Linked DNA regions of Homo sapiens: regions 2, 3, 4 and 5 are each linked to region 1. The links are contacts of gene promoters, found by promoter capture Hi-C in blood cells and fetal thymus (Javierre and others, 2016). All regions are on one chromosome and are shown on one strand. Each heading gives the region's core, a stretch centred on a gene start or on the middle of the fragment in contact. The rest is flanking DNA. Distances are from core to core; before and after follow the strand shown.

Region 1 (2,684 bases), core at 97-2,596:
ACTGAATAAAAATTTATGACTTGAATTGGGCAGGATGCTTGAACATCATTTTGTGAAAGGACCAGTGATTTCTTTCTGTATAATTTTCAGCCTCTTCTTTTTCAGATATTGAAAGAACCTCAGAATAGGATGGTTGATGGGCCCACTTAAGATAGTTGCTATGTTATAGCCCCAATTTTTAGCCGAGTCTCTCTAGGGACATAGAAACCGTGCTTTCTCAAATGACTGATTGGTGCCTGAGTATGGATTTTTCCAGATATCAGAGTTCCTTAGAACTGCGATGATTTTCAATCTAAGAAGACCTAGATTCTAGGTTACACACACACACACTCAACCTCATCGTTTTGAATAGCAGATACAGGGTTTCAGTGTTTTTGTTTTACTCTCTGTGGGTTCTATCCCAGCATCTTACTAAGGGCTGAGATTTCAGGGCATGAAACACGGAATCAACAAAAACAAGGTTTTTACAATCTCAAAACTTTGGGAAACTGTTGAGTTATCTTGAAAGCCTAGAGGGGGAGCATCAGTTAGTTTTGTAGAGAACTCGGCGAAACAATATTGATGCATACGGCTAGCCTCTGTCATCCTCCTGAGTTAAACCCAACGGGACATGCTGGACTATACAGGAGCCACTCGTGGACTCCGTGAAGACCAGATGGGTAGTGTTCTTGAAATGAGCAGATGTCTATTTGTAGAACTCTGGTAGTAGCTTTGGAGTGGGTGGGGAAGAGCTTGGTTCCCATTCCCCCTCAAAGACAATTATTTGCTTCTGATGAGAATCCAAGCAACAAGTTGCCATTGAGAATGCAGTGATTGGTCAGCAAACGAAGCCTATAGGAAGAGCCTTCGGGTGCATTCCTTGTGACATATCGACCCGTCCTAAGCCCGACGCTTAATTATGGGACCTCTCAGCTCCTCCCTCCCGCCTCGAGCTCCCTTTTGGCTTCTCACAAGGCTTCCTGGGGACGATTCCCCGATGCTAGAGTACTGGGGGTCTGGGCCCACAGGGAACCCGTCAGCCTCCCTCCTTGGAGCGGGCCTGATCCCGGGAGGGCGCCCGCGCGGCCCGGAGGCGGGAACCTAGGGGGAGAAGGCGCCGGCGCCGCCCTGGCGCGCAGACCATCTGTGCGGTCCTGCGCGGGGGCAGGCGCGGCCTCAGCCCCCGGGCGCTGGCGGACCCAGCGCGTCAGCTAGGCCGCCCCCGTCGGCCCTCCCCCGGGCGGGGCCAGCCCCGACGGCGCTGACTCAGCAACGCGAGGGGGGAGTTTTGTCCCTCCGCGGACCCCGTTTCTCCCAGCCTCAGCCTCCCCGCCGCCGCCGCCGCCGCCGCCGCCGAGCCGGTTTCCTTTTTCCGGCGCTCCGGGTGCGAGAGACAGGTCGGGCCCCCTAGGCAGCGAGCCGCAGCGCAATCCCGGCGCTCGCCCAAGGACCCTGGAAGCTACCGTTACCCCGCCGGGCAGCGTGGGCGCCATGAGCAGCTCGGGTGAGGTGCCGCCGTCCCCCGCCGCGGTCCTCTGGAGGAGCTCCGCGGTCCCCGTGAGGCCCGGCGGCGGGGAAGGCCGGGGGCTGGGACCCTTGGCGATGGCGGGGAGGGAGCTTTCGGGGCAGGCTGGATCGGCCTGGAGGGAGACAGCTCCTTGGAGGAGGATGCCGCTTATGGGTTTCCCCGCTGCAGCGGGCACCCCAGGATGCGCTTACGAAGTTAGATTCGGGACGCGGGAGCCCCAGATCAGCCCTTTCCCCCTCTTTTTGCGTTAAAATCCTGTTTGGTCTCCCAACAGGACTGAATTCGGAGAAGGTAGCTGCTCTGATACAGAAACTGAATTCCGACCCCCAGTTCGTACTTGCCCAGAATGTCGGGACCACCCACGACCTGCTGGACATCTGTCTGAAGCGGGCCACGGTGCAGCGCGCGCAGCATGTGTTCCAGCACGCCGTGCCCCAGGAGGGCAAGCCAATCACCAACCAGAAGAGCTCAGGTGTGGGCTTCCACTTCTCCCATACGTTCCTTGACCTTCCTGACAGCGTCCCATTTTGGTGTCTTATTTAAGAGTGGTCTTAAATTCGTACTGAAAGAACTGGTCGTAAATTCGTAAAGAATGAGGCACAGGTACAGGCAGGTCTAAGAACATTACCCATGTGGTTTGTTTTGCTGTTCTGTGGCTTGTTAGTACATGCGGTTAGAGTACAAAAGTGACATGTCCATGAGTATACGTTTGAGTGTAATTGACTATATTATGTTCCAATGCTGTGTGGTTTGTAGCCCGTGTCTTGGAGATGTATGGTCTTGGTCACAAAACAGAACATGTGAAAATGTTCATATCTTTGGAGGACTCCCCAGAAATGCCCTGAAGGCCCTATACTATGAAATAGAAAAGATACAATGTAATTACATTAAAATGTCATCAGATGTTACTTTTAAATATGCTTCTTGGTTACAACTGAAGCTAATGTGCTGATGGGCTCAGTTCCCACCAGTAGATCAGTTTGTAATACAGAAAAAAGTTCTGTTCTCATGCCTTGCTGGTCAAGAAGTCTCGTTTTGCTATCTGCTTTCTAGCACCACTCTCAGAAAAAACAGGTATAGTGAAAGATTGGATATCCAGCAATCTAAATAAGGAGCACATTCTCACAACAAAATTGTACTAAACGGATTTTTTAAAGTCTTTCTATACTTAAAAACG
Region 2 (2,684 bases), core at 53-2,552, 180 kb after region 1:
TCTACACTGTACAGTGTCATTGTTACCTATGAGCTATCAGGAAAGAGCCAATAACAAATTCAGTTAATCAAGTCCAAGCTTCTGAAGCATATGTAAGTATAAGTAAATAAATAAATCTATTAACAGCGAAATAAATGGATTTAGATATAAATCTGTATCTAACCTTCATCAGGTATAAATAACATCCTCCTCACTCAAAATATAAGCTCCTAAGGTTAAGGGACAGTATTTTACTTGAATGATTATTTAATAAATTTAACCGATCTGGCTTGTTTGGCTGCAAATTTTAAAGTAGTTTTCAAAAGACTGACAGCATGGTCATTAGCCTAGTAAGAAAGTTGGAAAGTGTGAGATTTCTAGGGTGCTGGCAAGGGCAATAAACCAGAAATTATGTGCTAGGTCCGCTCTGCCTCTTATGCCTGTTGTGAACTGGGCAACTCATTTATAAAATAAAATAGAGATAATATCAGGACTACCCACTTTATAGATTATTGGAAGAATCAAATAAGCTAGTATGCGAAAACACTTCAAGTTAAAGTGCCATGCAAATGTATGATATTTTTCATCAAGCTAGAAGTCATTTAGTTAATTTAATTTCCAGGATAACGGTTACAAACATGGCATTCTGCAAAATCTTTCCTTCCTTGCCACCTAAAATGCCATTTGTATTCACAGTGAACTCTGTAAACTTGCTCTGAAGCCATCAGGATATGTGGTTATGAGTTTAATATCTTCAAGAACACTGTTCCTTGGAATGTTGCTCTGAAGGCCCTAAAAAGCCCCCTTCCAAATATGAAACAGGCATATAGGTTAAAACTGGCATGTGATCATCCGAGAGAGGAGGACTGGTAATAACACTGCCCTCTTATCAGAAAAGGTTAAAAAGGGACGGCCAATCTCAAATTATAAGATATTTGGACACATCACATTTTGTCAATCTAATAAAGAAAATAAAGTTTAATTTCCCAAAATTTTATTAAAACTGGACTCTGTCATCAGATATCTATTGCAAAGATGAAATCTCACCACAGAGCAGTAAAGTTTGTCATAAAAACAAGCTTTAAACAAATATAAATTCTTTTTGTACTTTTGAACTGAAGAGGTTTTTATCATTAAAAAAGTGTCTTCTTTTTTCCATGAGTCATGGACATTTTCCCACAAGAATTTCTGTTCATTAAAATGACTTTTGAGTACCCCATAAATATGTACAACTACTATGTACCCACAAAAATTAAAAATTAAAAAGTTAAAAACCAAAAGCAACTTTTGAGTTGTTAAGGCAAGAGTATGGAGGCAGAGAGAGGGAAGAGGCGATGTTTAGATAAGTCTTTGAAAAATTAGAAAAACAATTCTCAGTCCATTTCTTAAAAATCTTTATTATTTGGTATTCTTTTGGTTTATCTTTATTATTTCGTATTCTATTTGGTATTCTTGTTTTCTAAATCCTCAGCTGTTACTTTGAACCTTATAAGAATGAAAAATAACTACCCAATCAACCATAACAGTTCCACAGCAGATACAAAGCTCAAACTGAAAGGAAGCTTTCAAATATATTCTATAACATACTTAAATACACTTGGCTATGGCTACCTTAGCTGGGTATTTTTTGGCTAAATTTCTTCTTAGGTAGCACTTTTGGGTTTAGAAAGTGCTGAGATAAATATTAGCAGCAGAAGACATTTATAGGTACCCCTTTCCAATGGAAAATATTTTATAGTTAACAAACAAAACTGATAACAAACAAAGGATCCTAAATACAGTATCAATTCCATTATCATCCATTATCACTTCTCTTGCAAACCTTCCCCTGGCATTTTTGCATACATATAATTGTCAGTCTTGGAGGGCAACGGAGGTGTAATACCACTATTTAGTTGTTTGGTTATCTTCATGAGAGCTGAACAGATGTGTATCCAGTGGTATAGATGTTCAATGACAACATTACCAAATTTCCATACTTCAGTTCGGGAATGATCTGCATCAGGAAAAAAAAAGAAAAGTAAGAGTGGAGAGTTTTGCACTTTACTATTAAAATTATAAGTTCTAATATTATGATTAAAGTTCATTAGATATGTTTTGAGTCAAAACCAAGCAGAATCTTGTGTAAATATGTAATTACAGGAATATGGATAAATTTTGGTATAGTCATACAATGGAATACTTAACAGCAGTTAACAAAGAATTAGAGTTATTTGTATTCATGAATAAATCTCAAAATATTCAATACAAAAAGTAAGTTATAGAATAATGTGTACTTTTGGGCACAATTAAACGGCTTTAAAACCTGCAAGATAGTATTATATTATTTATGGATTCATTAGCATATAGTAAAAATAAGAAATCATGCATGAAACCAATACCAAATTCATGATAGTATTATCTCTAGGGAAAGACGAGAAGACAGTGGGATCGAGGAAAGATAGAAATCCTCAACTGTTCCTATAATGTTTTCTTTAAAAAGTCTAACTCAAATATAGTGTTAAGGTTGGATATAGAATATAGCTTCATAATGACTATGCAGGTATTATTCTCTATACTTGCATGTTTGAAATATTTCCTAATTAAAAATTATTTAAAGCTATATAGTAACTGCACACCATTATATGTTTTAAGTTTTTTAAATTGAAAACTGTTAAACTGTCATTCATAAAAGTTGCTTTTTCCCAGGAGTCAATGACTAATAT
Region 3 (2,684 bases), core at 105-2,604, 190 kb before region 1:
AACATGGTGAAACCCCGTCTCTACTAAAAATACAAAAATTAGCCAGGCGTGGTGGCATGCATCTGTAGTCCCAGCTACTAAGGAGGCTGAGACAGGAGAATCGCTTGAACGCAGGAGGCGGAGGCTGCAGTGAGCCGAGATCGATAGCGCCACCGCACTCCAGCCTGGGCGACATAGCGAGTCTCCAAAAAAAAAAAAAAAAAAGTTTTCTAGCTGGTACACACATTTCAAATGGGCATTGTAATACATGTTTTAAACTATAAGCACGCTTTTCTGTGATTGGAATAATTGTCTTCTCTAGTAGGAAACATAAGTAAAAGCATTTTGAAAGTATGATAGGCAAATCTGGATAAATTTAGAATTGAGTTTCTTAGACCAAGGGGCTGATAGTGACAATACTGTGGTTTCTAGAGGCTTCAGTGTATAGCAATAAAAACAGGTCAAAGGAATTTGGAAAGTAGTTTCTATGCGGCTGTAAAGCAAAGAGACAGTTGGGAGAAAAAGGTGAGCTTTCTCTGCTCTTGTTGATCATCATAATCCACGAATGAGTTTTATGTAAGCTCACTTTATCCGACTATAGTTTCAGGAATTAAACAAATGCATTTGTCAAATCACAGGAAGGTTTTTTTGGTGGGAGAAGTATAGCAAATGTAACTGCAATTCACACAGGTTCTCTCAACTTTTTCAATAAAACCGATTCTAGACTCTAGAGCAGAAGGGTAAGTTATTTTCTCCTCCTTCAAACACCCAGTCCTGGAAGTCCCCAACCTGTAGTTGTCATGGAGACCCAATAAGAGACATTCTGTCTCCTATTCTCTTCATACTTCCTCCGACGGACCGGAATGCAAGTTCCTCCTTCTCTTTTCCCACTCAGTTTTCCAATAGTGACCTCAGCTCCAATGCGCTGACTCCTCCAGTCTCCGGGGCTCTGGATCTTCTCCCTCAACATTCGTTTCCTCTCAGAGTTCGTACCCCAAGCCCCTTCGTCCGAGTTCCATTACTCCCTCAACACAATTCTACCCAGGCGATTGAGAGCCCTCTTCCTCTACATCCCCGCTCTGTCCACTCTGCCCAACCCCTGCCCCACGTCCCGCTCACACGCCCCGGCCAGGCCAGACCCCTACCCCAGACCGTTCGGTATCCCCAAGGCCCCGGGGATCCCACTTAGGCAAGCCCCGCTGCTCAGCTCGGCCGCTCCGGGAGTCTGGTTCTTTCCTGTGCTGCTTCTCCCAAGATCTGTCCTCACTCAGCCCCTCTCACCCTCGTAGGACGCACCCGGAGGCCTTCTCGCCCTCACCTTCCCAGTAACTGCTGGTCCCTGCCGCCATCTTTGTCGTCCAACGTCAGCCGGGATAGGGGAGCAGAGGCGATGCAGGCCGGAAAGTCACCATGGTGCGTGTTTCCGCCTTGAGAGCCAGGGCCGACGGGATGCGAGCCTCCGCGGACACTGCCACCTGCTGATCAATTCGTTATCTTACAGCTTTTAAGTAGCGAGAGAGAAAAAACTTCGGCTTTAGCTCCTGTCTTTCATTCCCGCTTTCTGCGCCCCAAACCATCATCATCTCCCTCATCTCGGCTTATCCTTTCTCTCAGCAGGTGCCTACTTGACTGGGAGGAGAATCATCCTCAGGCAACTCCCTCAATTTCCCTCACCTTGTCTCTAATTTGTATCTTCAGCCAATTTCTTCCTTTCTCAGACATAGAGACCCTTTCTTCCCAGAGCCATTTCCTTCATCCTACCTCCCCGCCTGTGCTCCATCATCCACGTTCTTTGGCGTATGCGCTCTTCTCCACTGGCTGCTTTCCTTGTCTACAGCAGTTCTAGTCCCAGCCCTCTTTGTCCTTGTCAGCCGCCACATCTAGAAAGAGTGAGCTAACTGCTTCTACATGCTCTCGGCCTGAGCCCTCAACCTGATAAAATCTGCTGTCCAAACCCACACTTTATAGATACATAAATTATCACAGTCTACCGGTGCTGACTTAATTCTAGTGAAGTGTAGAAACCTTAATTCCTGTAAAGTTCTTTCCCCCACTCATTTATAATATAGTTGTTTTTAAGTATTTCCTCTGCATTCATTGAGGAGAACCACATCAGTGTTACAATATTTGCTTCAAGGGTCAGGCATAAGTTAGAGAATTCAAGAGAAGAGGAAAGCTTACTTGATTTATGCATATTTTACTCTTCTTCGTTCCTAGTGTCCCAAGATTCCTTTTTCTAATCGTTTCCTTTCTGTTTCAAGAATTTCCCTCAGCCATTTTTTTTTTAAAGAGTAGATCAGCTGGTGACAAATTCTATTAGTTTTTCTTCATCTGAGAATGTCTTGATTTCCCTTCATTCTTGGGGGATCGGATATTGTTGCCAGATATACAATCTGAAGTTGACAATTTCTTTCTTCAGCACTTGAAAAATGTGCCAATTCCTTCTGGCCTCCATAGTTTCAGATAAGAAATTGACTAAAATTGGAATTGTTTTTCCACTGTAGCTAAAATACATTTTCTCTCTCACTGCTTTCAAGAACTGTTCTTTAGTTTTCAGAAGTTATGATGTGCCTTGGTGTAGATTTCTTTGGATTTATCCTGTTTGGGATATCCTCAGCTTCTTGATTCTGACATTTATGTCTTCTGCCAAATTTGGGGGATTCTCAACCATTGTTTCTTCCAATACTTTTTCTGTCTCATACTGT
Region 4 (2,684 bases), core at 73-2,572, 160 kb after region 1:
ATTTCCATCTCTTCCTCTCTCTCTTCCCTGTCAAACTCTTCAAAATAAGATTACTAATTAAATTTTAAAAGTTACTATTCAGATGAGAGGACAATAAAAGACAGAGAAACTGTAGAGCTAAAGAAAATATATTGAAGACTAAAATAACACCAATAGAGCTAATAAATTAGAAACAGTAAGAAACAGAAAAGCTATAACTGAAACACTGACAAAAGTTTAATCTTAGTAGAGAGAAAAAGACATAGACTGAGTAATTTCCCTAAATACCTGTTTAATTTTCCTTATCCTGCTCTACTTTTTCACAGCTCTGTAATCTTCTAAATTCACATGTAACTTACTTATCTGTTATGTTAATTACTTATCACCCCCCACCACCACCACCTTGAGAATATAAGTGCCATAAAGGCAGTGGCTTTTGTTATGTTTCACTGGCACAGGGCAAGTGATCAATAAATATCTGTTGAATGCATTAATAAATGCATGACGATGATATGAAAGACAAAGATGATCCTCCAAAATGATAACCCAGCACATGGATGACAGTAAATTTCAATGAAATGAAGAAAAAGCTAAATATTTAGAGAAAAAGAAACAGTGTATTCCTGGAAAAAACAATTCAACATTATTTGCAGCAAGACACATTGAGTTAAAAAGGCTATATACTCTCCAGTAGTCCAAGCCAATTAAAAAAAGTCTAGAAGTAGGGATAAAAGAAACTATAGTGTTGTACTTCCTCATAAGAACATTAAGTACCAGAAAAAATCACTAATGTCTGTAAGATTTTGAAATAAATTGTTATTGTAGAAATATTACACCCAATCAAGTAGATATTTAAGTGACAAAAGCAATGGGCAAGCATTATTTAACAATCAAAAACTTAAGAAATAATGCCCCAATGAGCACATGTTGAAAAACTATGAAATTAAGTCAAAGACCTCAGAAATGGAAAACAATGGTTAAAAAGACTAGTGGACGCTGGGCATAGTGGCTCACACTTCTAATCCCAGTACTTTGAGAGGCTGAGGCAGGAGGATCATTTGAAGCCAGGGGCTCCAGAACAGCCTGGGCAACATAGTGAGACTCTGTCTCAACAAAAAAATAAAAAAAAATTAGGCAGGCATGGTAGTGCATGACTGTAGTCTCAGCTACTTGGGAGGCTGAGGTGGGAGAATTGCTTGAGCCCAGGAGGTTGAGGCTACAGTGAGCTGTGACAGAGCCACTGCACTCTAGCCTGGACAACAGTGAGTCCCTGTCTCAAAATGAAATATTTTAAAAAAGAAAAAGAAAAATAAGGAGGACAGAATTTTCTTGCCATCTCCCCACTTCTAATAGAATTGTCTTAGTTCCATCCTTTTCCTTTTCTCTCTTCTTGCTTTTTCACTCTTAGCCAGTATGTTAAGGATGAAATTTTAGCAAATTGCAAAATTACTTTAAATCCCTCACTGTTTGATATACTCGGTACCATAAATTTACTAGTAATTCAGTTTAATAGCATATGAGAAAAGTTCACAAATTCTCAGCCATCATTAAAATAACCTAAATTTCCCAACATTTTCACAATATGCTTTGTCTTATCTATGTACAACTGTCTTTTTATTTGAACTATACTAGACTATATCTACAGAAGTAAGGCATTATCTGATTAAAACTGATGAAAAACCACAACTAAAACATTTTATTGATTTGGATGTACTATAATGTTCAGACAGATTAAAATTTTAACTTTTTCTTACCAATAGTAAGCCAAACAGGCTTCCAGCTAAAATAAGATTAATTTTTCATTAGGAAAACCAAACCTTCAACTTACTTTTTCAAGAAAATTTTTAAAAAGATTAAAGAGGAGAAATATCAAGAAATAGTGAAAGGAATGGAAGTGTATACACTTATGTAATCCTGTAACTTGCTAATGCTTCTTACTTTGGGAATACACAATTATGGTTATCTTTTTTTTTTTAAGCACTCACTTCCTTGTATTCGTCAAAATTATAACAAAATAATAATATGATTTTGAAAAAAAACTCACACTACCATGCTAAAAAGTAATCATTTTCATTTATTATTTTTTACTTATCTGTGCACCTATAGCATTGTACAACCCTAAGTATTCAATTTTGTATCCTTATTTCATCTACCTCATGCTTTTAAAATGTCCCAATATTTTCTCTCCTAGTCTTCTATCAGATAAAATGTGTTATATCTTTTTACATTTTAATATGATTTGGAAACTAAATACACTATGGGAAATCCTTAAAATTCACCATAATTTTTCTTAAAAAATAGTTGAAAATACAGAAAAGTATAAAAAAAAAAATCATGCCAGGCGTGGTGGCTCACACCTGTAATCCCAGCACTTGGGGACACCAAAGCAGGAGGATCACTTGAGGCCTGGAGTTCAAAATGAGCCTGGGCAATATAGCGAGACCCCCATCTCTACAAATTAAAAAAAAAAAAACAAAAAAACCACTCATTGTCTGCCATACAAAGATAACTACCATTAATATGAAATGCTTTATTGTCTTTTTTCCTTTTATCTATAACAAATTTGTATATATTTTTTCACTAAATGTTATTTCATGATGAATGTGATAGCCGTAGTATTGCACACACTTTACTTACTCATGCTTTCACTGTTGAAAGCTGGACTGGTCTTAAATTTTTACGATCATAAAGAGACCCAAGATAAA
Region 5 (2,684 bases), core at 80-2,579, 140 kb before region 1:
TGCCATGTAGGACTGAGGGTTCAGCTGAAGTTGGAGAGCACACATATGGACTATAGCAAATTGCCGTGACAGTGTGACCACTCTAGGCTGTACTTGTAATATTGGTATGGAGAAAAGAGATAATGGTAATTACTGAGGACTGGAGGGCAAAGCAGTTATGTCAAAGGGGTGTACAAGACCCTTAGGAGAATCATTGAAAAGGTATGTCCATGGGTCTACCCTACAGAGAAAGGTAAATCAAATCAAAAGGGTTAATGGTCTAAGAAAACAAAGAGAAGATAAGGAACTAGAAGCCAAAATGAAGGCGAAAAGCAGAAATCATGAGAATGAGCATAGAATGTGATGAGAAAATATGCAAAATCCAGCCATTTAATTTTTATTTTGATGGTTGGGACACTATACATTCTCTTATTACTCCACGTATGTACTTCAAAAAAACATATATGTCCAAACAGAAAGCAATAATTCTCTAAGGTGAAATGAACAGCTGTACTCCTCTAGTAGAAACTCTGAACAATCTCACAAGATTCATTTGCAGAGGATGAGGGAATGGGAAAAGTGGAAGGATGGAGGACTGTGACTGGAGAGTGCAGAGTTACAGTAATAATATTCATTACCTATAACCAATAATAGTACCAATATAACCAATAACAATACTAAGTCAGTAGTAACACCAAACATTGAAACTAACAAGCTTAGTTTACAAGCCTCAACTTTTAACATGTTTTCTAAGACAATTTTTATTTTTTTGAGACAGGGTCTCAGCTTTGTCACCCAGGCTAGAGTATAGTATTGTGATCAAGCTCACTTCAACCTCAATCTCCTGGGATAGAGCAATCCTCCCACCTCAGCCTCCTAAGTAGCTGGAACAACAAATGCATGTCACCACAACCGGCTAATTTTTTTTTTATTTTTTATTTTTAGTAGAGGCAAGCTCTTGCTATGTTGCCCAGTCTGGTCTCAAACTCCTGAGAGCTCAAGCAATTCTCCTGCCTTGCCCTACCAAAGTGCTACGATTTCAGGCATGAGCCACCAAGCCTGGTCCTAAGAACGATTTTTAAATTAAATTTTCACACACACACACATTTTAACATTCCCGATTGTAAGAGTAATCCATGTTTATCATAGGAAGTTTGGAAAATACAGAAATTTCTGCCTGCTTTTCCTTGCTATATGTAACTACAGGATCTTAAATACCTTAGACTAAAGTTTGGCAATTTTTTCCTGTAAAAAACCAGAAAGCAAATATTTCAGACTTTTTAGATGCAAAAGTCTTTGTTGAAACTACCCAACTTTGCCCTTTGATCACTGGATTTTCCTTCTTTAGTTTGTTAATATAGTAAATTATACTGACTTACTTTGAAATGTTGAAGGAGAAAGCAGCCACACACAATATATAAAAATATAGCTGTGGCTGTGTGTCAATACAATTTTATTTACAAAAACAGGTGGTGGGCAAGATTTGGCTCCAGAGCTATAATTCATTAAGCCCTTATCTTGGCCTACTTTACTGGGCTTATAACTTATTTGTCAAATGAAATAAATTGACATGTATATGTTCCAGGTACTGTGCTAAAACCATAGATAAAAGGCCAATGGAGAAAGACATGTAGTGTATTCAAAAGTGAGGTGGGAAACAGGAGAAAAAGCTATTTTTCGGAAACAGCTGAAAAAGTCATGCTTTATTAACTATGGAAGCACTTGACCTGAGTCTTGCAGGACTTTAAAGCATATTTTTAAATAAAAGAATTAATTTTGTAACATTTTATATTCAAAGACAAGCCTACCTTGGAATAAGAAAGTGCTATTTGTTGGAACACAGCATCATCTGGTGATTTACTATATGTGGCAAGTCCTTGTTCATCATCATCAAAAGGGTAGTTAACCACCAAAGAACCTATAAGGGAAAAGAGGAAAATGTATCATGTTGTCTGTTTCAAGATGGATTATTAACATAAAGCTTTTCAGAATACTGCCAGAGAAGAGAAAACAATAAAATTTGCCAAGCAGAATTTCCTCAACAGAAATGAAAATTACACTAATTTCTTCAATTCAAAGTGAATAAGTGAGAAGATATCTTTCAAATGGCTAATTTTCTAAAGCCACAAAAAAAGATTTATAGTACTTCTACCAAACAGTCTACCTCAAAAAAATAATTAGCATCAATACGGAAAGGACTAGCAACAAAAGAAAAAAACAGATATACGGGATTCCATCAAAATCAAAAACTTTTATGCATCAAGAACATAAGAAAGAGAAAAGACAACCTATAGAATGGGGGAAAATGTTTTGCAAGCCTGATAAGGGTCCAGTGTCCAGTATTTAAAAACTCTTACAACTTAACAACAAAGACAAAAACTCAATTAAAAATTGGACAAAGGACTTGAACAGATATTTCTCCAAAGAAGATAGATAAATGGCCAACAAGCTCATGAAAAGATCCTCGGCATCATTAGTTATTGTGGAAATGCACACCAAAACCAAAATGAGGTCCTACTTCTCACCCACTAGGACAGCTATAATAATAAAAATAGAAAATAATAAGTGGTGGTGAGGATATGAAGAAACTGGAACCTCATACATTGCTGGCGGGAATGTAAAATAGTCCAGCCTCTGTGGAAAACAGTTTGGCAATTCCTCAAAAAGCTTAACATGGAATTATCATATGACAATTTCACTCCTAA

What was found. The method cuts DNA at HindIII sites, captures the fragments that hold promoters and counts their contacts. A CHiCAGO score of 5 or more calls a contact.
Region 2: a fragment that was not itself captured here is called in contact with the fragment with the promoter of BLMH in region 1 in 7 of 17 cell types (megakaryocytes, endothelial precursors, M2 macrophages and 4 more); the score reaches 10.1 in megakaryocytes.
Region 3: the fragment with the promoter of GOSR1 here is called in contact with the fragment with the promoter of BLMH in region 1 in 4 of 17 cell types (M2 macrophages, M0 macrophages, M1 macrophages and 1 more); the score reaches 7.4 in M2 macrophages.
Region 4: a contact is called between a fragment that was not itself captured here and the fragment with the promoter of BLMH in region 1, in 4 of 17 cell types (activated CD4 T cells, megakaryocytes, erythroblasts and 1 more). The highest score is 6.0, in activated CD4 T cells.
Region 5: a fragment that was not itself captured here is called in contact with the fragment with the promoter of BLMH in region 1 in 1 of 17 cell types (activated CD4 T cells); the score reaches 5.0 in activated CD4 T cells.

The regions. Positions count from the first base shown.
Region 1 is chr17:30,290,606-30,293,289 of GRCh38, reverse strand. BLMH (bleomycin hydrolase) reads left to right here and starts at 1,346. Exons shown (of 12, transcript NM_000386.4): 1 at 1,346-1,483; 2 at 1,782-1,979. The coding sequence starts at 1,471. RefSeq lists silencers at 936-1,345, 1,546-1,615 and an enhancer at 2,066-2,125. The HindIII fragment of the contact is 8,040 bases long and covers 1-2,684 here.
Region 2 is chr17:30,107,125-30,109,808 of GRCh38, reverse strand. It overlaps EFCAB5 (EF-hand calcium binding domain 5), which reads right to left. Exons shown (of 23, transcript NM_198529.4): 23 at 1,357-1,975. The coding sequence ends at 1,785. Among named protein-coding and RNA genes, the nearest start is that of NSRP1, 8.3 kb to the left of the region's middle. The HindIII fragment of the contact is 483 bases long and covers 1,061-1,543 here.
Region 3 is chr17:30,476,078-30,478,761 of GRCh38, reverse strand. GOSR1 (golgi SNAP receptor complex member 1) reads right to left here and starts at 1,354. Exons shown (of 9, transcript NM_001007025.2): 1 at 1,298-1,354. The coding sequence starts at 1,328. RefSeq lists enhancers at 1,091-1,310, 1,461-1,610. The HindIII fragment of the contact is 3,772 bases long and covers 1-2,157 here.
Region 4 is chr17:30,128,688-30,131,371 of GRCh38, reverse strand. All of the region lies in intron 2 of NSRP1 (nuclear speckle splicing regulatory protein 1), which reads right to left. Among named protein-coding and RNA genes, the nearest start is that of MIR3184, 13 kb to the right of the region's middle. The HindIII fragment of the contact is 7,104 bases long and covers 1-2,684 here.
Region 5 is chr17:30,430,985-30,433,668 of GRCh38, reverse strand. CPD (carboxypeptidase D) reads right to left here. Exons shown (of 21, transcript NM_001304.5): 8 at 1,788-1,897. Among named protein-coding and RNA genes, the nearest start is that of GOSR1, 45 kb to the left of the region's middle. The HindIII fragment of the contact is 1,266 bases long and covers 697-1,962 here.